Linked DNA regions of Homo sapiens: regions 1, 2, 3, 4 and 5 are each linked to region 6. The links are contacts of gene promoters, found by promoter capture Hi-C in blood cells and fetal thymus (Javierre and others, 2016). All regions are on one chromosome and are shown on one strand. The core of a region is centred on a gene start or on the middle of the fragment in contact, and the rest is flanking DNA. Distances in the headings are between cores, read along the strand shown. Region 1 overlaps LINC01805 (long intergenic non-protein coding RNA 1805). Region 2 overlaps LGALSL (galectin like). Region 3 overlaps AFTPH (aftiphilin). Region 4 holds the start of SERTAD2 (SERTA domain containing 2). Region 5 has its middle 9.4 kb from the start of LINC01805. Region 6 holds the start of PELI1 (pellino E3 ubiquitin protein ligase 1).

Region 1 (3,301 bases), core at 522-3,021, 350 kb after region 6:
ATGGTAGCCAGATAAATCATCAAACAACCTGTTTGGGATATAAAACTTTGATAGAAAATATTTGATGAGTATCTTGATTATGACCTAGAATATGTATAAATTAGTAAAATAAACAGATATACTACAGAACTCTCTGTTGACTCAAACAGGTTGACCTCAATCCACGTTTTCTCTCGATATCACTCAATTGGCTAAAGGAGGAAACTCAAACCTCAGGGTTTGTTTTTCCCAGGACAGATAGTAGTGATAATGAAGTATATTTTAATAAGAAAAACAAACCAGTGAACCTTGAGAAATTTTAAAAAGCATCATCGAGGCATATTTTTCATAATTCTATACTTATCTATTTATTGCCCATGGAAAATATATGTGTAGAAGTATTTGTCTGTTATTTGTTACAATCTTCTTAATTTGTTTCAAAGATAATGCTGCCATACTGCATTCCCTCTGGAAGGAAATATTAGTTAGTGTTATATGAGAAAACTCTTTCTCATATACTCTTTTCAAATTCCCTGAAAGTTAATACTTTATCACACTTGCTTTATTATTCTCTCTCTCTACAAATACACAATTTTTTCTGAAATATTTGCAAATACATTACAGATATGTGGTCCCTTTTTCTCTAAATATTTCGGTGTATATTTTTTTAAAAACGGGAACATTCTTTTACATAACCGTAATACAACTGCCAAATCCAGAAATTGATACTGAAACAATAGTGTAATCTACAAACTTTATTCAGATTTTGCCAATTGCCCACTAGTGTCCTTTTTGTGGTCCTGGATCCAGTTCAGAATCATATGTCACATTTAATTGTCATGTTTCTTTAATCTCCCTTAATTTGAAACAATTCTTCTTTCTTGTCTTTCATGATCTTAACATGTTTATAAGAGTACAAGCTAATTGTTTTGTAGAATGATGCTCAGTTTGGATTTGTCTGATGTTTTCTTGTGATTCGATTCAAAGTATGCGTTTTTGTTCAGGAATATTCAGAAGCCATGCTGTGGTCTTCTCGGTGCTTCATGTCAAGAGGCACATGATACCTATTTGTCCCGTTAATGCTAATGTTCCCTTTGATCACTTGGTTGAGGTGGTATCTGCTAGATTTCCCCACTGAAAATTACTGTTTTTACTTTTTAAATAAGTATCTTATTGGGAGATACTTTGAGATGGCATAAATATCCTGTTTCTCATTGTTCTTTTAGCTTTTATTGGTCATTCTTCCCTTAAGCAGTTATTACTGCGGTGGTAGCCAAATGGAATTTTCTTATGCCATCATTCCTTCAACATGGCCTCATCAGCTATTATTACATATTAATGCATCTTGCTCCTCTCAAACGAATAGGCCCTCTGGTATGGGACTAGGAAACTTGTCCTTAAGTTAAAGGTCATGGAGGTAGGCTGAACAACAAAAGAACGTAGCAACAGCAGGGGACCTATGGAATGGGCACTACTGTTTCTGTAGGAACTGATCATGTAATTTCTAATATGTGTGAATGTGGCCACCCTTCCAAATTAGTGAGTTAGTGTGGGGCAGTTTGATGCAGGTTTGCACAGCTTTCAAAATTATCCAAAATAAAGTGTGCCTCCTAGAACCTAGTGTACTTTTGGTTATACTGTAGAAGAGGCAGCTTCATCAAGCTTTTAGAAAGCATGGGAATGGATGATAAATCAAAGGTAGATACACTGAGAGAAGAGGAATCCGCTGGAGGGGAACCTTGGGATGTTTCTGCTTTTGCAGCTCATGCAACAACAGATGAGCCAGTGAGAGACAAAGGCCAGAGAGGGAGGAACAGTATGTTGTTATGAAAACCACGGTAAGAATCTGAAGAAAGAGAGGTCATCCAATGTTATCTTCCCCTGGGTATAGTCTTGGATCTGGAATAACTTGAGTTCTTTAGAGAAGCTTGGGGTGAGCATTGTCAATATGCCTAAGTCCATAAAGTAAAGAGAAACCTCTCTGTGGGCTCTGAGTATCTGTCTAAGTCCTTTCCCCAAAACAAAAACCACATGGCCATTATCTGCTCAGGCAGTGCTGTGCCCAAACCCACCAGAATACACAGGACCCACTGCCCTGGTTCTGACAGTAGGGCTTAGGAGGCAACTCTATCCCATCCCCTTCCACAAAAAAAGAACAAAGCCCAAGACCCTGGAGTGTTTGACTCAGCTTAACCTTTTCAATGGCTGCTTGCAAAAACTTCCCTTCCCTTCTGGAATCCATTTAATTCACTTATCTGCCCTTATTCCCTAGTCTCGCTCACTGTCCCTCTTTTCCAAGCATGGCCCAGTCAGAATTGTTGAGTGTTACAGAGAGCAGCAGGAGGAGGTCTTTGGATCTGGGGTTTGAACAGTTCATTAGTTCACTGAATTCAGTGACACCTTTTGAGAGGCCAGGTTGGTTTTTTGTTTATTTGTTTGTTTGTTTTCTTGAGATGGAGTCTCACTCTGTTGCCCAGGCTAGAGTGCAATGGCACGATCTTGACTCACTGCACCCTCTGCCTCCCAGGTTCAAGCGATTCTCCTGCCTCAGCCTCCCAACTACAGGCACACACCACCACGCTCAGCTAATTTTTGTATTTTTAGTAGAGAGCGGATTTCACCATGTTGGCCAGGATGGTCTCGATCTCTTGACCTCATGATCTGCCCACGTCAGCCTTCCAAAATGCTGTGATTACAGGCGTGAGCCACTGTGCCCGGCCTTTTCTTTTTTTTCAGATGAGGTTTGCTACGTTGCCTGGGCTGGAGTGCAGTGGCTATTCACAGGTGTTATCATAGCTCATGACAACCTCAAACTCCTGGGCTCAAGCAGTCCTACTACCTTAGCCACCCAAGCAGCTGGGACTATGGGTGTGTGCCACCGTGCTTGGCTCAAGAGGCCAGTTTTAATTTTTAAAAAGTGTGATGGTTCCAGATTGCCAGGATTTGACAAGTATAAAGCATATAAAGAAAGCGGAGAAGCTCATGATAGCCTCCACTTGCCAGAAATTTGTTTGTAAAGGGAAGGAAAAAGACAGGTTAGCAATCTGATAGGGAAGCAGTGTCATGCATGGTTCAGGCTTTTGCAGTCGGGAAGTTAGGGTATATTTTCAAGGAGCTAGAGAATGGCAACCTGAACATGCCAGAAGGAGGAAAATACTGGTAGATGGAGGTGGAGGCAAAGAAGTACTGGTAAAATCAAGAAACCCAGATAAGGTTAGCTTTGAGAACAAAGATAGCATGTGACTTCTCTGGAAATAGGGAGGAAGAATGAAGGAAAAAGCAAGTGATAAATGATGATCCAAGCAAAATTAAGACAGTGGAG
Region 2 (3,581 bases), core at 76-2,575, 310 kb after region 6:
TCTTGGTGATAAAATTTAGTAATATAAAATAAATGTGACTAGTATCACATATGGAGCCTCCTTACATGGTGAATGCCAATGCTTTTAATAAACCCATCATAGCACACTACCAGTAATTGAACTTTATGGTAAATTACTTGAGGAAAAAGCTTTTACACTTACATTCTACACAGGAATCAGAAATTTTGGAGGTAGAGCCCAACAATCTGTGTTCTAACAAGCCCTCTGCAGGTCTCAATGCATTCTGATGTTTGTGAACCACTGAAGATACTGCCTTTCTTTCTCTAAAATGAAGTATTGTTTGTTTTCCCCAGTAGCGTTCATTGAAATTGTGGATTATTATTTTGTTTCTTCCAGGTGGAAATTCTTTGTGAGCACCCACGTTTCCGAGTGTTTGTGGATGGACACCAACTTTTTGATTTTTACCATCGCATTCAAACGTTATCTGCAATTGACACCATAAAGATAAATGGAGACCTCCAGATCACCAAGCTTGGCTGATTTAAACCACCTCTATTTCAAATAGGATCACGTGCCACAACTATCTGACTGTTGGTCTGGAAGAAGTGTCCTAGCAAGATCTGGAGACTTAAAAAGAAAACAAAAACAAATGGCAAGTTTCACTTAAGGGTGGTTTGCCCTTAAGAAGAAAGCTGTTGGGACAAAGACACCGAGCCATTATACCCAGAATAAAATAATACATTTATGCTGGATTTTATTCAGACCAAACTAAAATGGATTTGTGATGATTTGTGATTTGGTAGCAAATTATTCATCTTTTCAAAGCAAGGCAATGCTTAGAAACAGAAGTGCTAAAGACACTTAAAAAGCCAACAACAACGGTACAGTGAAATCAATGCATTTCTGCACTAAAGTGGAATTGTGTAGCACAACCAATATTTTAGTCAGGGTATTTACATAGAATGTAGGTTGTTCAAGGTTTGACTTTTTTTTTGTTTTTTGTTTTTGTTTTTGTTTTTGTTTTGCACAGCATAATGTTAATTCAGATTGTTGAAGCTTTCTTGTAGTTATTTATTTATACTCAATGTATGTATTAAAGAATGAACAATGTCTCAAGAACAGCAAGTTGTAAACTTTTGAATGTATAAATATCTTAGGTCCAAGGGGAGAAAATTACATATTACAATTATGAAACAGGTGAATTTCTGCTTTAAAGAATTGAGATTCTCCATACCCCTAAACTTAGGATCTCTTGATATAAACTGCTGTAAGTGCTTTTGGGAAACCTTTGCAAAACCATTTTGATAAAACTGCTTTCCAAGTTATTGTTGGTTATGTAAAATTCTATTTACATTGCTTTTTCTCCTTACTGGGAATTAGCACATTATTGGCTTCCTTAAGACTAATTATTTCTCTCTTGATTTATATAATAGCTCATTAAGTTGTTATTAATCAAAAACACAAAGAGGTGATTGCTTAGACAATTTTTAAAGTGACTATAGTATAAACTTTTAAAAGAATAATATGAAAATGACTGTGGAATGCAGTGTAAAGCAGAAGCAAACGGCCCTGAATAACTTACTTGGAAGTAATTTATATCAACTTAAGCTGTTAGCTCATTGTATAACTTTTCTTATGTGACCCTCACCAATATCCCTAAGTAATGCCTTTGGAAGCTTCAGAGTAGAAGATGCTTCCTACTGTGTTGGCTCTGAGGAGATAGTAGGATTAGATAGGATCCAGATTAGGAAATGATCCAGTTAGTTTATCTGAAAGGTTAACTCCCAGGACTCCAGGTCTTTGAATCCAGCCAGTAGAGTGAATGCTTCCAATTAAGCTGTAGGTGTTACCCTGCACTTACGGAACTGATCAAACAGGTGACTCCAACAGGAGGTTGCAGTACTGTAAACGTCACCGCAAGGCAAGGGATGCTTAAAGTCCTGGGTTCTGGACTTTAAAAGCTACATTGGCCCTGGAGGGAGGGACCCTTGGCATTGCTTTGATCAGGTAGTGAGGGAAGACAGGGTTCTGGGGTGGGGGTGTATTTATATATAATTTAGGTTTTGTTTGTACAGCATACTGTGTCTTGTAATGACACATCCTTGTCCTGCTTTCCTTTTTTGAGTTTTTTTTTTTTTTTTACACAACATGCAGAGGCACTGAAGTGACCATGTCATTTTCAAGTGTCAAGAATGTAGACAGTGTTTCAGTACCAAAGTCTAAAATAAACTAAAATTATGAATTTTTTATAGGTGATACATTTGGATTCTTCTCAACTTTGAAACTGTTTAGCACAGTTCCATTGTATTATATAAGAAGACACTGTATCCAACAAGACTGGCTGTACATTGAAAAGCTTTATGTACCAGCCAACTTATTTAACCATATTCAGCCTGTTCCGTGGGGGCTGTTCTGTGGTTCCAGGTATTTTCAAGCCTGTGATTAACTTCTCATGGCTTGTCACTTAAAAGTCCCTAAATTTGAGAGACTTAAAGGGCACCTTGAAATACATTTGTGGAGTTTTGATCCAACTTATGGTGGAAGAGCCCCATAGGAAGACTGTTTTGAGTGGCCAACCATTCCCACCCACTGCATAATTCAGCAGAAACTAGAGGAGCAGGGCGTGTACTGATTGGAATTGACACGCTTATTCTGTCTACCTATCAGCTAACTCATTAGCAGCCAAGCCCTTAGGCAGCTTAGTGTGAAAATACAATGTTAACTGTTTGTTTCTCTGTGAGGTTAGTGGGAACCGCTTGGATAAGCCTATTGGGATTAATCTAAATGATGTGATGATTTGATTCAGGTATAGCCCAAATTAGTAAGGGGCTTTAGCTGTAAACTGAAAACAATATTCACACCCTCTCCTGGGCCTGTAAGGTCTAAGGTGAGAATTTCAGGATGGAAAATGCAATGTAAAGCTTCCACAGGAAAGTATTCGGGTATGTAAGGTGTTATTTCTGACCAGAGCCCTAGTTCTGCAATAACCAAAACCAAGGAGTATAAATAACAATCAGGCTCTGGGGGAATAGAAAGCAGGCTTTAGACAATCTGTCCATTTCTACAGTAAAATTGGAGTGAGTGTGTATATCTACTTAAAACTTAATAGAAGTGACTTCTACTTTTTGGGCTATTCCAGAAGTATTTTAAAATTATTATTTAAAATTTTGAAGCCCCATTTCAAATCTTGCCGACCTTAGTTCAAAGCCCCCTGAGAGATCACTTTTAGAATTGAGGATTTGTTAAAATGGCAAGTCATTTCATTTGTGTTAAAAAGAAAATACCCAAAAGGAAGGAGGGAGCCCTGTTTGCCTTGAGATAAACGGCCTTGGCATTTTCTGGCATTAATGTAGAAATAATGTTCCTATGATGACATATTTTCAAAGAAACACTTTCTTATTTACTGTGTGGTGTAAAATGTTGCTAAATGTGTTGTTACATTATGTCACTGCTGAAAGTAATTTGCACTATAATAAAGGAATTTTCTACAAAACAGTTTCCAGTTTATAACATGCTACATTTGGCGCCAGGTATAGAGTACTTAGCATAGACCACGTGGCATAGCAGTGATTCCTCACTTTCACACTTATGCCTCAAGATAACTTTTTCCTGCATTCCCC
Region 3 (3,474 bases), core at 920-3,419, 410 kb after region 6:
ATTAATTGTTGTGGAGGCTTCTAATTTCAGCTTTTCAAAAAATATTTTTTCAACTGAGTACTTGTTAAAGGAGTCTCGTTATGATGTATAATGCCTGTCTGATTTGTGGGTTGGTTACATTTTTCACAACCCTTTGGGAAACTACAAATAGTCCTATAGTAAAGCGCAGTAAGATTTTTCTTTATCTCAATGAGTTTCGTTAATATTTACAGATACTCATCAACTTGGATTTTTTGGTGACTATAAATACCATATATGTTAAAAAAAAAAAAAAAAACCCACACTTATTACCTAATTGACGGTTCCAGTCAATCCTTCAGTATTACCCTTTACAGTGATTTTAAAAGAAGGTTAAACTGAGATTTGGATCTTTTTTTTTTTAAGCTTAAGAATAGAATGTTAATTTTTTCCATCAAAGACCTAGGAAATTCAAGTACGGTTTTGATTCCAGGAGAGAACAAGCAGAATTTGAAACCTCATTCTGTGCCAAAGGCTATAGTGAATTGAAGAACAGAAAAACAACTAGAAAAAAGCAAGTTTTTCTTTTTCCTCATAATTTAGCAGCTGCTAAAAGACTTGGGGTGAGGGTATGAGATGAATTAAGGTTTAGTCCTAAAATAAGAAATAACTATAGGTTCACTTATTGTAGTTGTATTTATTTGCCTATACTTTCTTACAAATGTACTTGTTAGCTCTTCCTAGAGAGTAGGTGTGTCAGGGAGAATATTTTTACCCCTTACCTCCTATACATTATCCTTTTTTGATTCAGACTCTTTCAGAAAAGATTCATTAAGATTCACTTTGACCTAAAGTAGCCCCTAGAGGTGTAGCTTGATATCTAGGTTGTTCCCCAGTCCAGAGTTCTACTCTGTGCTAAACTTTACCTTTTTTCAACTCCAGGGGTGTGGAAGAGGGCACTCCCTTGAACCTCACTGCCTTATACTGACAATTGATATATGTAACTAACACCTGATCCACAAGCTTATTTTAAATATACTGTTAATAAACTCAGAATCTACAAACTTTATTTCTCCAGTTATCTTCTGCTAAGAAAACCATTTTCAACTGGAAATCTTTCCAAAGTCTTTGTAATTGAAATACTTATATTTCATTGCCTTGATAACTTTGAGACAGTAAGATATTAGAGAAATTATGGTATTACCAGTTGGTGTGCATAGCTAATCGCTTTTTAGTTGGCTTTTGTGTCAAAGTAGTTTAATTTGCTAATTCAGTTATTACATGGTTTAGCTAATGTGTATTATTCCTATTGAGCAGTTCATTATTTAGGCAGAACCTTGCCATTTTAAACAAGAAGTGAACTAATTATGATGCTAAATGAGGACTGTTGCTTTTGACCTAACCCTTTCCCTATTTAGTTTCATCTCACTAGAGGATAGGGTGACACTGGTATTGGGTGATCTTTAATTTGTAGCCTTAGAACTTTTAACATCATCAGATAATGAATTTTTTAAAGTGTGACCACTCAAGTAGGAATTTCTTGCATCATACAAGTTGATTGAAGTTATTTATGTATAATTTGATAACTGGATATAGGAGATAATAAAGCGTATGGGCTTCATGGAATCTGACAGATCTGAGTTTGAATTTTGACCCAGCCTCTTAAAAAGCCTTATGATTTTTGGATAGGTTACTTCTGAATTCAGCTGTATATACAAAGAAGGTAATACCTACTTCAAAGAACTTTTGTGAATATAAAAGGAAATTTTAAAATGAGTGAAATAATCTGCTAGAAAATAAGAATTTTATAGTATGATTCTTTTTTTTATAAAAATAAAACAAACTATAGATGGGGCAAGATGCATTAAGAGTTTCTGAGACCAGGTGCAGTGGCTCATGCCTGTAATCACAGCACTTTGGGAGGCTGAAGTGGGTGGATCACTTGAGGTCAGGAGTTCTAGCCCTGCCTGGCCAACATGGTGAGACCCTGTCTCTACTAAAAATACAAAAATTAGCTGGGCGTGGTGACGTGCATCTGTAATCCCAGCTACTCAGGAGGCTGAGACAGGAGAATAACTTGAACCCAGCAGGTGGAGGTTGCAGTGAGCCGAGATCACACCACTGCATTTCAGGCTAGGCTACAGAGAGAGACTGTCACACACACACACACACACACACACACACACACACACACACACAAGACTTTCTTGGATTTGTTTGGCTAAGGCCTCATGCTTCTATTTTTGCTAATGGGTTATGGAAAATGAACAGAATTTGGATGTTGGGAAAGAGAAACTGCTGGAGGAGGCCAGAAGAAGTTTGGGAAGAAAGTTGAAGTAGTGAAATGGATAAACCCTGCTGAGTAAGTGACTGAGTCAGAAGTGGAGAAAGATTGAACAAAGACTCTCGTTCTTACCCTGCTGTTGTGAAAGAGAATTGCGGCTGGCACTTTATTTCTTGGGCTTCAGATTCTGCTAGAAGAGTGCATTAATTTAGCCCTTTTGGAGAGGATTAGATTTATTAGTATTTTTCTTAAAATGTTTTCCCTAGTTGCTCCGGACAGTGTTTGGAACAGCACGAATTCCTCACTTTTTTTTTTTTTTTGGAGACAGAATCTTGCTCTGTCACCCAGGCTGGAGTGCAGTGGCACGATCTCAGCTCACTGCAGCCTCCGCCTCCCGGGTTCAAGCAGTTCTCCTGCCTCAGCCTCCCTAGTAGCTGGGACTACAGGCCCATGCCACCACGCCCGGCTAATTTTTGTACTTTTATTGGAGATGAAGTGTCACCATATTGGCCAGGCTGGTCTCGAACTCCTGACCTCAGGTGATCCACCCGGCTCGGCCTCCCAAAGTGCTGGGATTACAGGCGTGAGCCACCGTGCCTAGCCTCCTCACATATTAATAACAGTAAGCATTAAGTTTTTTAGTGGTAAAAGTTGAAATGATTTATTTCTGTTCAATCTTACCCGGATGCCACAAGTGTCCTGAACAAAATGCCATCAAGTGGTTTTGTCCGAATTTTGCTTTGACAGAACGTGTTTTAGAATTCAGAGCTTAATTAAACAAACATGGCAATTTGATTTAATTTGTTTGATTAAACAAGCATGGAAAACAAATCTTTGTTTTGTGAAGTCAGACAAATGGTATAGTTGGTCATTTCAGATTTCTTCCACTTTTCACTATTTGGTATGTGACATTGTCCAGGTCCCCATTTCTTAGCACTTTCCTGTTTTTAGCCCACCAAAAAGATATCTTAAAATGTTAATAAATATGTCTTCGTTGGGGTTAGTGCAATAATTTGTTACTTAGGTAGCGAAAAGTCAAGCAAGAATTCTTGCAAAATTAAAAAAATGTTCGTAGTCTAATTCTCAGCTGTGGGTCCAGCCAGTCTCAGAGGGTTCAAGCTTTGATGTAAAAGCCATATATGAACATTATTGAGAAATAGATATCTTGTCCCTTCGGTGAATAATTTTTTCTGAGAACCTGAAGTTTAGTATATTTCATTCTTTTGTTAACA
Region 4 (3,449 bases), core at 63-2,562, 510 kb after region 6:
GCTGGTGTCACCCTTATTGTGAGGCCATTTTCATGTCAACTGGAGCTTGCCTTCTGGTGCCTTCAGTACACAACTGATCTTTGGACTCAGTAATCAGAGACGGCGCCTGCGCTTGCTCTCTCTCTCACGCACCAAGTAACTATTGCAACTAGAGCTATCTCCTATAGGATATGCCATGACAGTGAATACAAAATTTCTGTTGCCAAGAAGCTTTAAAAATTCTATGAGTGAATTAAAGTTCATGGCCCCAAATACGCCTATCTATATATAGCTTTTTCCACAGGTAATATTGACAAAGTGGTCTTGATTCTGTTGATATATGTGAAATATAAAATAAAGCTTCATACTTTTTTTTCTGTGCTTTTTAACAAGAAACCACAGCAAAAGAAACCTCTCAAAGTTTCTGTTCCAGCTTTCACCTTTCTTAGTTACTAAAATGTAAAATATTTTGTCTGAGGGTAAACTTGTAGTATAATTGGACACTGATAATAAAAGTAGCATGCTGCAAGTTGATAGAAATTTTTATGTATTTGCATTCGAACATCTTCAAACTGCCTTCATACGTTTTGTAATGTTTTTTGTGTGTGATGCATGTGTGTGCCTTTCTAAAGTAGTGTTGTAACTTACTCTGCCATTGGAACCCTGTTTAAAATAGCAGATACCATAAGCTATCAGTCGCCACACAAATTTGAATGAGTTTTAAAATATCAAAATATGTGCTATTTTACTAGGCTCATTATCAGTAATAATTCAGTGTGTAGCAACTGGGCAAAATTCATATTTTAGCTTCTCAATTAAATAGAAAAGCTTTAAAGAGGGACAATTCAGCAAACAGAAGTGTAAAGATTTTCTAAATCTGAATTAATATCCTTCTCTTAGTTCTTCAAGGGAAACAAGCTTGAGCAGCTGTTACCTAAGACGCTGTGACATTCGCCTGACAATAAAACCGTTCCCTAGGACACCTCCTGTCACACATACACTTGGTTGGCTTTACAAAATGTGAGTCCTCTCCCTTACCTGTCTGAATGAAGTAAGGAAAAGGGCCGGGTGTTAAGGAAAAAGGGGGTTGGGGGATGTCAAATCCAAAATAAGATTTCTCATCTGAGAACAACATGGTTATGTATATTTTAATTAGGGGGTGAAACAAGTAAAAAAAAAAAACTGTTAAAGGATTCCAAACTTAATGAACGACATAAACAATTTTATATTAACATATAATACCCCTCTAAAGAAGTCAATGAAGCTAAAGGAAAACTTTTAAACATTTGTCTCTTTTAAATAAAAAGAAAAAAAACCCTGAAAAAATAAACAGAAAAGCAGAGATCCACAAACAAACTATTCTTGTTCACTCCAGAAGTTGGGATCTTAGGATGGATATTTTCATCTTCACAGCACACCCTAGCACACTCATATCAGAATAGACTGCTATAAAAAGGGGGAGGGATGGGAGCTGCCAGGGTGAGACATGCCTTCTGCTGAGCTGAGCAACTACCCCCAACCCCCATCGGCCAAGCAGCCCAGACGCTCTCAGGTGGACGGTCCTTCAGGGGCGGAGCGAAGCCCAAAGCCCACTTCACTCTTGTCAGGGACTAGTCTCTAACTACAAAAAGCTACTGTGAACACTTAGGGCCTCAGGAATCCTGGTGACTACAACTTCTAGCCTCTTTACACACATTATGGATATTTCTTAACATACATTGGGAAATCAAAAAGCGTATTTCATGAACAAAGCTTGAAAACATGTACTCTCTACCCTAAGCCCAACTGAGGCTGCCCAATTCGATTCAAATAAAAACTGCTGTGGTCTGAGGCTGGCTGTCTCACTCTGCTGACTGTCCTCCCCATTCAGTGTCTGTGAAAACTTACTTTCTACCTCCTGAAACGACTCGGCTTGCAAGCAAAAAGTTATTCCAATGCAAACTATACCTGATATTTTCGTGAAACTTAGAAACTAAACCTAAAACTCGACTCCCATCGCAATCTATTACTACCACTTCTGCTAAAGGTAACTTATAGCCAAGAAAACAAAACAAAATACGATTTTCTGTCCATGTAGTGGCCCTGTGACGACACCCCCTCTCTTACTGGTACAAAGTCTAGGGCTTGGGACAGCTGGCTCCCCTCAGCCCCCTCCCTTTCAGTCATAGGCGGTTACCACGAAGATGACTTGTAGATTTCTAACTTAAAAACCAACGAGACGTTAAGTTTAATATACATGTAGATCCCAAATCAATTCATTTGGGCATGGACGAAAGAAAAGAGGGTGGAGAGGAAGGTTTTCAACATTATTAAAAAAAACACCGGGAAATTCACAAAAACGCACTACAGTAAGTTGGATGCAAACCCGGCCACGGAACTCAAAAGTGAAGCAGCCTTCGCGCCAGCAATCCGAGCCTTAAAAAAAGTCTCGCACGTTCACAACAACACAACCGCCACAACGCGCACACACATCCCAGCTGTAGAGGCGACAGCTCCAGGCGCCCCCGCCCGCCGCTCGGCTCTCCGAGCTCCCGACCCCCTCCTGACCCCGGCCCTGCCCCCCAGCGGCTCAGCCCGCAGGCGCCGGGGGTCCGAGAGCGCGGGGCCCGGACCGGGGCCGCGGGAGGGAGCGCTCCTCCCGTACCTGCTCCGTCCCCGGCTCCCTCCCGCGGCGGCGCCCGGCCCCTCCTCCGCCCTCCGGGCTCTCCCAGCCCTGGCCGAGTCCCAACACCGGCCCCCCATCCACCCGGAGCCCCCCGCGCCCGCGGATCCCCTCCAGCCCGACGCCGGGAGAACTTACCACATGCAGCTCCACCTGGGAACTAACGCATCAGGAGGGGTTTCCGCCCACTCCTCAGCTACTCCCGCTCCATGCGGAGTGCCCCGCTCCAGGGGCCCGAGGGTGGCGCCGGGGAGCGGGCAGCAGGCGAGGCTGAAGCTAAGACTCCGCCGTTCTCTGCCTGCGCGCCCCGAGCATTATACAATGGTGGAGGCGGCGGCGGCAGGCAGCGGAGGAGGAAGCAGGAGGCGGGCGGAGGGGGCGCCCTGACCGAGCGAGCGGTACGTCGTGCTCCAGCACTCGCCGTGCAGGAGTGACGTGCGGCCCGCGAGCCTCCCGCGAGCTCCGGGCCCCGGCGCCGCAGGCCCCGCCCCTGGCCGCCCGACCCCGCCCCCGCCGGCCCCGCCCCGGCCCGCCTCTCCCCGGCGGTCCCGGGAGGCGCGATAAAGGCCGGGGCCGGCCGCGGCCGGCCGCGGCCGCAGGAGGAGCAGGAAGGGGCGGCGGGGCGCAGTGGGCGCCTGGTGGCAGCGCCGCCCCCAGCTCCCTGCCGGGCCGGCGCGCCCCTGATTTTCTCGTAAGGACGGGCTGAAAGAGGAGGGGAGACAGAAGGAGACACTCCGGCCCGAGGACCACCACTGCCACTAGTAACGCCCCCTACACACTCTAGAAGTGCTCAGGCGAATGACGAAGC
Region 5 (3,656 bases), core at 1,093-3,592, 330 kb after region 6:
CCTATTTTTAAAATTTATTTTACTTTATTTTTATTTGTTTGTTTGGTTGTTTAAACACAGAGTCTCACTCTGTTGCACAGGCTGGAGTGCAGTGGTGCGACCACGACTCACTGCAGGCTTGACCTCCCAGGCTCAAAAGATCCTCCCTCCTCAGCCTCCCAAGTAGCTGGGACTACAACCACATGCAGCTAATTTTAAAATTTTTTGTAGAGATGGAGTTCCACTGTGTTGCCCAGGCTGGTGTTAAATTCCTGGGCTCAAGAGATCCTCCCAACTCAGCCTCCCAAAGTGCTGAGATTACACATGTGAGCCACTGTGCCTAGCCTAAAACCCCATTTTTATAAAACAGTATGAAGGACATATTTCAAGAGGTGATGGGAATTGTATTGTCTTCCTTTCGTTTCTCAGCACTTCCTAATTTTTCTGTAGAAAATGTAAATCCATCCAATCTTCCAAAAAGTAGATTGACCAATCTATTACAAGTAGTAGTTTTATTGAGTAACTACTAGGTAGTTTATTGAGGAACTACTAAGTATCAAGCACTCTGCTGGGTCAGTACTGAGAGATGAGATTCCTGTTCACCAGAACTTTTCTGTTTATTACCACTTGTGTGATTTTTTAAAATTATTTTTTCAGTTGTACCAGTTAGGTATTTTTTCAGTCTAGAATCCAGGGAGTGAGTTATATCAGAGGCTTTCAAATAGTTCTAGTCCACAAATCTTCTTAGTGTTGCTAAAAACCCACTGATCTCCTGGTTCTTTCTCCCACACCCCACTGCTGCTTGCTATGGCAAATCAGGCAAAATCTTTGGCAAGGCAGTAGGGAAAGCCTGACCTGCTTTTAGAGAAGGCTATACTCTGTTAAATATCAAAAGGCAAGTTACTGATTTATGCTAGAAACAGAAGGATACCTGTTGTGTATCCTTGAGTGGATGAAGAGTCAAGGGTGGCTGTTGGACAAGTCCTGCTGATGAGTTTGGGTGGCTTTCACAAATCCACTAAGCTCTCCACTCCACACTTTCATTCTACCAAAAAAAAAAAAAACAAAAAAATGGGAACAATAGTGTCTGCTCTTCCTATGTCACTCCTTATGTGAAATAAGGAAAACATTATCTGTCCTGCCTGCCTACATGAGGAGTCTGCACAGCTCACATTGACCCTTTTGAGAGCTAACCTTACTCTAAGTTGGGTCTCCGCAGCCATGTTTGTACTAGACTTTCTCTCCTGGGATTTTAGAATGGGTACCAGGAGACTTAGATTCATTCTGAACTGGTTTTTCAAAAGGAAGAAGTAAAACACCTTGGTTGCTGGGCTTGGCCATCTTTGGTTGAGGAATCTGAATTACAGAAGAACAAAGCAGTTTGCTGAGAGAGGCAGAGCCGAGAGACAAACAGACCTGGTGGATTTCCACTTCCAGGACCCTGGCCTGATCTAGGACTGGGCTACATTCTTATCTTCAAGTTCAGGAGAATGCCCTGCATTGTTATAAAAAATCCTCCAGTTTTGCTCAAGCTAGTTTAAATCGTCTCTGTTTTCATAACTAAACAATTCCATCTTACACTCTTCTTCAAAAATTCTGTGAGAATCAAATAGACTTGTTTTATTTTATTTTTAGATGGAGTCTCCCTCTGTCACCCAGGCTGGAGTGCGGTGGTACGATCTTCACTCACTGCAACCTCCGCCTCCCGGGTTCAAGCAATTCTCCTGCCTCAGCCTCCCAAGTAACTGGGACTACAGGCGCCCGCCACTACACCCAGCTAATTTTGGTATTTTTAGTAGAGACAGGATTTCACCATGTTGGCCAGGCTGGTCTCGAGCTCCTGACATCAGATGATCCGCCCGCCTCAGCCTCCCAAAGTTCCGGGATTATAGGCATGAGCCACTGCACCCGGTCAAATAGGCTAATTTTATATGAGACATTTGAAAACTCCTTTAAAAAGAAAGTCCCCTGACTTTGCAGTTAGGGTAGGAGCTCAGGGTCTGACTGGTTTTCTTTCTCAAAATTCAAACAATTCTGCTAATTTCTACTCCAACCTCATCCCACATTCAAAAGTACATGTCACATCCAATTCCTGGGCTTTCTGGGGGATCTGTGGCACAAAGTAACTTGATACTTGGGTTGTATATTGGTTACAATAAGTAGTGCTGGCTGCTGTAACAAATAAACCCCCAGTTCTCAGTGACTTGACAAAATAAAAAGTTAATGTCTAGCTCATGTCAAAGTCCAGTAGTGCTGGAAGGAAAGTTCAGCTCAATCCTATTATGTGGGAACTCAGGTTTCTTCCACAAACTGGCTTTGTCATTTCCAGGGCCTCGAAGTCCTCTGCACAAGTCAGCAGGACTTGTCCAACAGCCACCCTTGACTCTTCATCCACTTGCTCCATCCACTCACAACAGGTATCCTTCTGTTTCTAGCATAAATTAATAACTTGCCTTTTGATATTTAACAAGAGTATGGCCTTCTCTAAAAGCAGGTAGGACTTTCCCTACTGCCTTGGTAAAGATTTTGCCTGATTTGCCATGGCAAGCAGTAGTGGGGTGTGGGAGAAAGAACCAGGAGATGCATGGGTTTTTAGCACCGCTAAGGTGGTTTGCGGACTAGGACTAATACCAGAGGACTCTGGATCCTCTGCATCGAGCCTGCAGATATAGGAAGAATGAGTGAGAACTCAGAGGTCTCCTGGGCAGTTTCTCTGGGGCCGGGCCTGAAAGCAGTATATATCATTTCTGCCCATATTCCACTATTCAGAGCTTAGCTACATGGCCCCACCTACCTATGAGAGAGGTTGGAACCATATAGTCTACCTACATGTCCAGAAGGAAAAGGAAAAGGGAAGGAGGTTTAGTGAACACAGAACAGTCTTTACCTCCATTTTCCAGCCCCATATCCTCTACTCCTGTTTTTAGTTTTCTCTAGCCTACTGTCATTTAGCCAACAATACAGGGGCTGACAAACAATGGCCTAAGGGCCAAATCCAGCCCATGGCCTGTTTTCATACATAAAGTTTTCACTGAGGCTCAGCCATGCCCATGTGTTTACTTACTGTCTATGTTGCTTTCATACTATAATGGAGCAGCTGAATTGTTTTGACAGAGCCCATGTGGCCTGCAAAGCCGAAACTATTTACTCTCTGGATCTTTACAGAAAAAAATTTGCCAACTCTACAAAACTACATCAGCTTTCCAAATAAGAGTGCACAATCTCTCCTGACTGTGTCTTTTCCTCTTCTGTTTTTGCCCCTCGCGGGCCACCTGCTGCCCCGGGTAAACCATCAGGTGAGACAGCCTCTGGAGAATGGCTCCAATGTGCTAAGGAAGAACTTGGCTGCTCATTTATTCCTGAGGTTCACTGGGTTTGGTCATTTTTGTAAAATTGCTGAAAGTTTTATGTTCTAAAGTCTAAGGATACTCTTTCTGAATTATTTTTTTTCTTATTCAACTTCCAGATGATGTTCTCATATTCACCTGGAAGTGCCATATAAGTTTTCAGCTAATGGAACAGAAAGCAAACAAGATGAGTGTGGTCAATTAAAGAATAAAAAATGGGTTAGAGAAAGAGCAAAAATTGGAAAGAGATGAGCAATGTTACCACAAGTCTCACAACCTACAACACCAACCCTACCCCCTCTAATACCTTGTTGTTACTAAAAAAAGACT
Region 6 (3,490 bases), core at 446-2,945:
AAAGTGAACCTTTACCACAATTAAAATATTTTAAATTCACCCTATTATGAAAACTTAATAATAAATTCATTTATCCTTAAGTGTAAGAGTAATACATATTCGACACAGTAAAGGACAATGCCATTTCTGAAACAAAAGATCATGTGCAATGAAAACAAAGTAACATTTTGCAGAGTAAGAAAAAGTAAAGAGCCTGTGAACCGAAACAGATGACCTTTTCTTATATATAAAGCTTCAGTTTTTAGCACAACCAGCACCTTATGAATAAAGTTCTCAATAACATTTGTTGATATACTGTTTGATGACTAAACGACAGGAATATTGTTGGTGCTGTTAAAACCAAGGCACATTTCCTTGTGTGTAGTGATTAAAATCTGTTAAATGTACATTTTTAAAAAACCTCTGCCCTCTGTCCCCTTCTTGCTCTCTTGCCTCTAACAGACCTGCACGTACAAAAATAAAAGTAGATGGTGACGTGAGTTTATGATTTACATTAATTTCCCTACTCGGAGCATTTTTCACTAAGTCTTTAGAGGTTTTAAGATTCAAACACTATGTAAGAAGAATTATGGTTTGAACTACGTAACAATTACCTAGACATCTTTTGGACTTCAGTTAACCTGTAAGTAAAATGAGCATCTTTAACTTTTCCACGGGGCTTTGGAGAACGGGTTCTTCCTCATAAACGCTTTCATATACTCAGACACGAGGCGCGGTAGAAGATCAAGCGTATCCATCAATTTGAGAGCTTTTCACGACCTCAGTTTACCCACTTAGGGAAACGGGCGTATTAACTTGTTTCCTAGGGGACCCGGGGGTGAAATTAATTAGCGTGTTTAAAATGCTCTGAGATCCAAAGATGAAAGGAAATGTGAAAGACGCGCAGAGATGATGACAACAATCATAACAATAAAAAGAATGACTAACTTGAAGTCTGCGTTATGTAAGGGAGGAAAAGAAGTTATCAGATCCGCACAAACAAAAGGGAAACCCACCGCCCCTTTTGTTTCTCCCATTTCCCTCTCCTCCCCGCCACCCGCAGAGCTCCCCTCTCGCAGCCGGAGCGCGCGGCCAGCCAGGCGCGGGGCTCGGAGTTGGCCGCCGCGCGCCCCGCTCCCGGGCGGAGGGGGAGGCCGCGTAGGGCCGGTTCCTGACAAAGGCGCTTCCTCGAGCCAGGGCGCGGGATGCAGGCGCCGCAAACTCCGCTCCCCGCCGCAGCGGGGGCGCGCAGGCGGGCGGGGAGAGCCGGCTGCTGGCCGCCGGGGAAGCCGCCGAGGAAGTTGCGCGCCCGCCCTCCCCGCGCCCCTCGGCGGCCCCGCCGCCATCCATCCCGCGGCGCCCCGCGGTCACACTTACCGGACAATTGCTGGTGGCCGGGATCCCAGAGCGGCCCCCGAGACCCGAGGCGAGAGGGTGAAGTGTTGTGCGCGGGGAGCGCGAGCAGACAGCCCGCCGTTCCGCCGCTGCCCTCCGCGCCCGCCAGCCGAGCCCAGCGAGGGGAAGTTGACCACGGAGCCGAGCGCTGAGGAGCCGCGGACGCAGGGAGAGGCGTTGGGGCTGCTTTGTGGTGCGCTCCCGGAGGGCTGGGGACCAATTCGACCGCACCGCGGGACTAGGGCTGCTGCCGCTGCTGCTAGTGGAGGCGGCGGCGGCGCCCCCCGACGGTCCCTCCGCCTCACACCGCCTCTGGGTCACTGACATACACTCGCAAGGAGGGGAGGGGTCTAGCCGGGGGGCGGGGCCTGAGGGAGGGGACCGGGCAGGGCCACAGCGGAAGGCGGTGTCGCCGCACCGAGAAGGCTCTTGGGAATTGTAGTTCTCCGGTTGAAGAAAAAAGGGATTCATTGTTGTCCAGCACCCTACCAGGCTCGCTCTGCACTGAGCATGCTCGAGGGCGAGGTTTGGACCGCCCCCTCCCACCGTTACCATGGTCACCGACACACTTAGCGAACGTGTTCAGTGCTGCTGTTGGCTGAACAAGGACGGTCTTGTATTATGGTGTTGTTGGGGATCCAACCCTTAGACGGTCCTTCCTACTTTTCTCCACCTCCAACTCCTAGCCTTACCAGTCATAAGTACCCAGTGAGGTCTGACTTTCTCTCCATATTTCAGTCTTCCCTGCTGCGTAATTTATCTTCCACAAACCCTAAATCACAAATACCTCTGTCCCTCACTTCCCTCAATTGAATCTTCTCCGGCTAAATTCAATTTTCTTTACCTAAGACTTGTCGAAATGTAGTTGTTTCCAGTAATTGAACAATTAGGTTATAAAACTTAGGAATATCACCACTATCAAAGTCCCGTAATTAATTACTTTGCTCAGTTAGTCACATCTAACTTTAAGATTAGCAAAGGCAAAGTACAGAATTAAGACCCCTATATTTTACTTGATTACTATAAAAGAATCCGGGTTCGTTCATTTTAAGGCCTACAATTTTTAAGACATACAAATTTCATAAAGTATACGTTCAAAAGACAAGTTGAAAATTGTTTATGTGTATTGGCCAACTTTAGTTTGGTAATAAGAGAAGTCTGAACCAAGGTATGAGTATGTTGTTGGGCTGGTCAGCTAAGTCTACACCCATCTTGGGCACCCAGGTGTGGAAAGGTGGTAGGGAGGAGGGTGGAGAAAGGCAGGACACATTACTGGCTCTCCGGAGAGCTAAAGGCAACGCGTCCTGAGCGCTTTTGTTTTCCTTCTCCACCTACCTAGAACCCCACACCCTGGAAGAAAAAGATTAATGCTTAGGAATCAGACACACTTTTGGAGCAAGGCTTTCAGAGAGTCTCAAGATCAGAAATCCTTATATCTACAGACTATATAATTATACACTCATTCAAAAAATGCTTGTTGAGTGTCTACTTGTGCTAGGCACTGTTTTGAGCCCCAGAAATAGAGATACAAAAATGTAAAAGAAACATTCTTATTTTCAGAGTGCTTACTATGCAAAGGAGGAGACAGGTAAATAGACTTAATTTGAGAAGTACTACAATAGGAAAATGCAAAGCTACCCACAGATGTGGGCAAAATCAGGAAATGCTTCAAAGATCACTTGAGATAACTAGGAATTAACATGTTTGTGTATTTTGGTAGGGGAGGAGGAAGAGAGAGGTGGGTGAGAGCATTGGGGGTGGTGTTGGGGAGAGCATCAAGCACAAATACCTAAAGGTGTGAGACCCAAACGTATTTTGGTTCAGCAAATAGTTGCATTGCTGGCAGTAGAATGGAGTTGGGGGAGTGGCAAGAGGAGACACTGAAAAAGGTAAGGGAGACAGCTTAGGTAATGAAGAATCTTGCACAATATGCTAAGGAACATGAACCTTTTCCTGGAAACAATGGGAAGCCACACAAGGATTGTAAGCAGATGGAATTTTGATAAGATAGGCATTTTAGAAAGATCACTCTATGGAGTGTGGTATGTATGGGACCTGTTACAGTATTACAGGGGAAAAAACCATGAGAGACTGAACTAAGGTAAGGCAGTGGCAG

The links. The method cuts DNA at HindIII sites, captures the fragments that hold promoters and counts their contacts. A CHiCAGO score of 5 or more calls a contact.
Region 1: a contact is called between a fragment that was not itself captured here and the fragment with the promoter of PELI1 in region 6, in 3 of 17 cell types (activated CD4 T cells, M1 macrophages and M0 macrophages). The highest score is 6.6, in activated CD4 T cells.
Region 2: a contact is called between a fragment that was not itself captured here and the fragment with the promoter of PELI1 in region 6, in 1 of 17 cell types (activated CD4 T cells). The highest score is 5.4, in activated CD4 T cells.
Region 3: a contact is called between a fragment that was not itself captured here and the fragment with the promoter of PELI1 in region 6, in 1 of 17 cell types (activated CD4 T cells). The highest score is 5.5, in activated CD4 T cells.
Region 4: a contact is called between a fragment that was not itself captured here and the fragment with the promoter of PELI1 in region 6, in 1 of 17 cell types (fetal thymus). The highest score is 7.4, in fetal thymus.
Region 5: a contact is called between a fragment that was not itself captured here and the fragment with the promoter of PELI1 in region 6, in 1 of 17 cell types (activated CD4 T cells). The highest score is 6.2, in activated CD4 T cells.

The regions. Positions count from the first base shown.
Region 1 is chr2:64,495,362-64,498,662 of GRCh38, forward strand. The region is part of intron 2 of LINC01805 (long intergenic non-protein coding RNA 1805); the gene reads left to right. Among named protein-coding and RNA genes, the nearest start is that of LINC01805, 11 kb to the left of the region's middle. The HindIII fragment of the contact is 265 bases long and covers 1,640-1,904 here.
Region 2 is chr2:64,457,928-64,461,508 of GRCh38, forward strand. It overlaps LGALSL (galectin like), which reads left to right. Exons shown (of 5, transcript NM_014181.3): 5 at 358-3,454. The coding sequence ends at 501. Among named protein-coding and RNA genes, the nearest start is that of LGALSL-DT, 4.8 kb to the left of the region's middle. The HindIII fragment of the contact is 620 bases long and covers 1,016-1,635 here.
Region 3 is chr2:64,553,443-64,556,916 of GRCh38, forward strand. All of the region lies in intron 2 of AFTPH (aftiphilin), which reads left to right. The region is part of intron 5 of LOC105374773 (a long non-coding RNA gene); the gene reads right to left. Among named protein-coding and RNA genes, the nearest start is that of MIR4434, 30 kb to the left of the region's middle. The HindIII fragment of the contact is 2,380 bases long and covers 980-3,359 here.
Region 4 is chr2:64,650,841-64,654,289 of GRCh38, forward strand. SERTAD2 (SERTA domain containing 2) reads right to left here and starts at 3,073. Exons shown (of 2, transcript NM_014755.3): 1 at 2,780-3,073. LOC124907776 reads left to right here and starts at 3,231. Exons shown (of 1, transcript XM_047446580.1): 1 at 3,231-3,449. The coding sequence starts at 3,440. RefSeq lists silencers at 2,037-2,116, 2,417-2,746, 2,855-3,149, 2,887-3,449. The HindIII fragment of the contact is 834 bases long and covers 896-1,729 here.
Region 5 is chr2:64,475,095-64,478,750 of GRCh38, forward strand. No RefSeq gene overlaps it. Among named protein-coding and RNA genes, the nearest start is that of LINC01805, 9.4 kb to the right of the region's middle. The HindIII fragment of the contact is 5,493 bases long and covers 1-3,656 here.
Region 6 is chr2:64,142,725-64,146,214 of GRCh38, forward strand. PELI1 (pellino E3 ubiquitin protein ligase 1) reads right to left here and starts at 1,696. Exons shown (of 7, transcript NM_020651.4): 1 at 1,357-1,696. RefSeq lists silencers at 1,144-1,213, 1,224-1,293, 1,434-1,503, 1,584-1,773, 1,864-1,923. The HindIII fragment of the contact is 6,118 bases long and covers 231-3,490 here.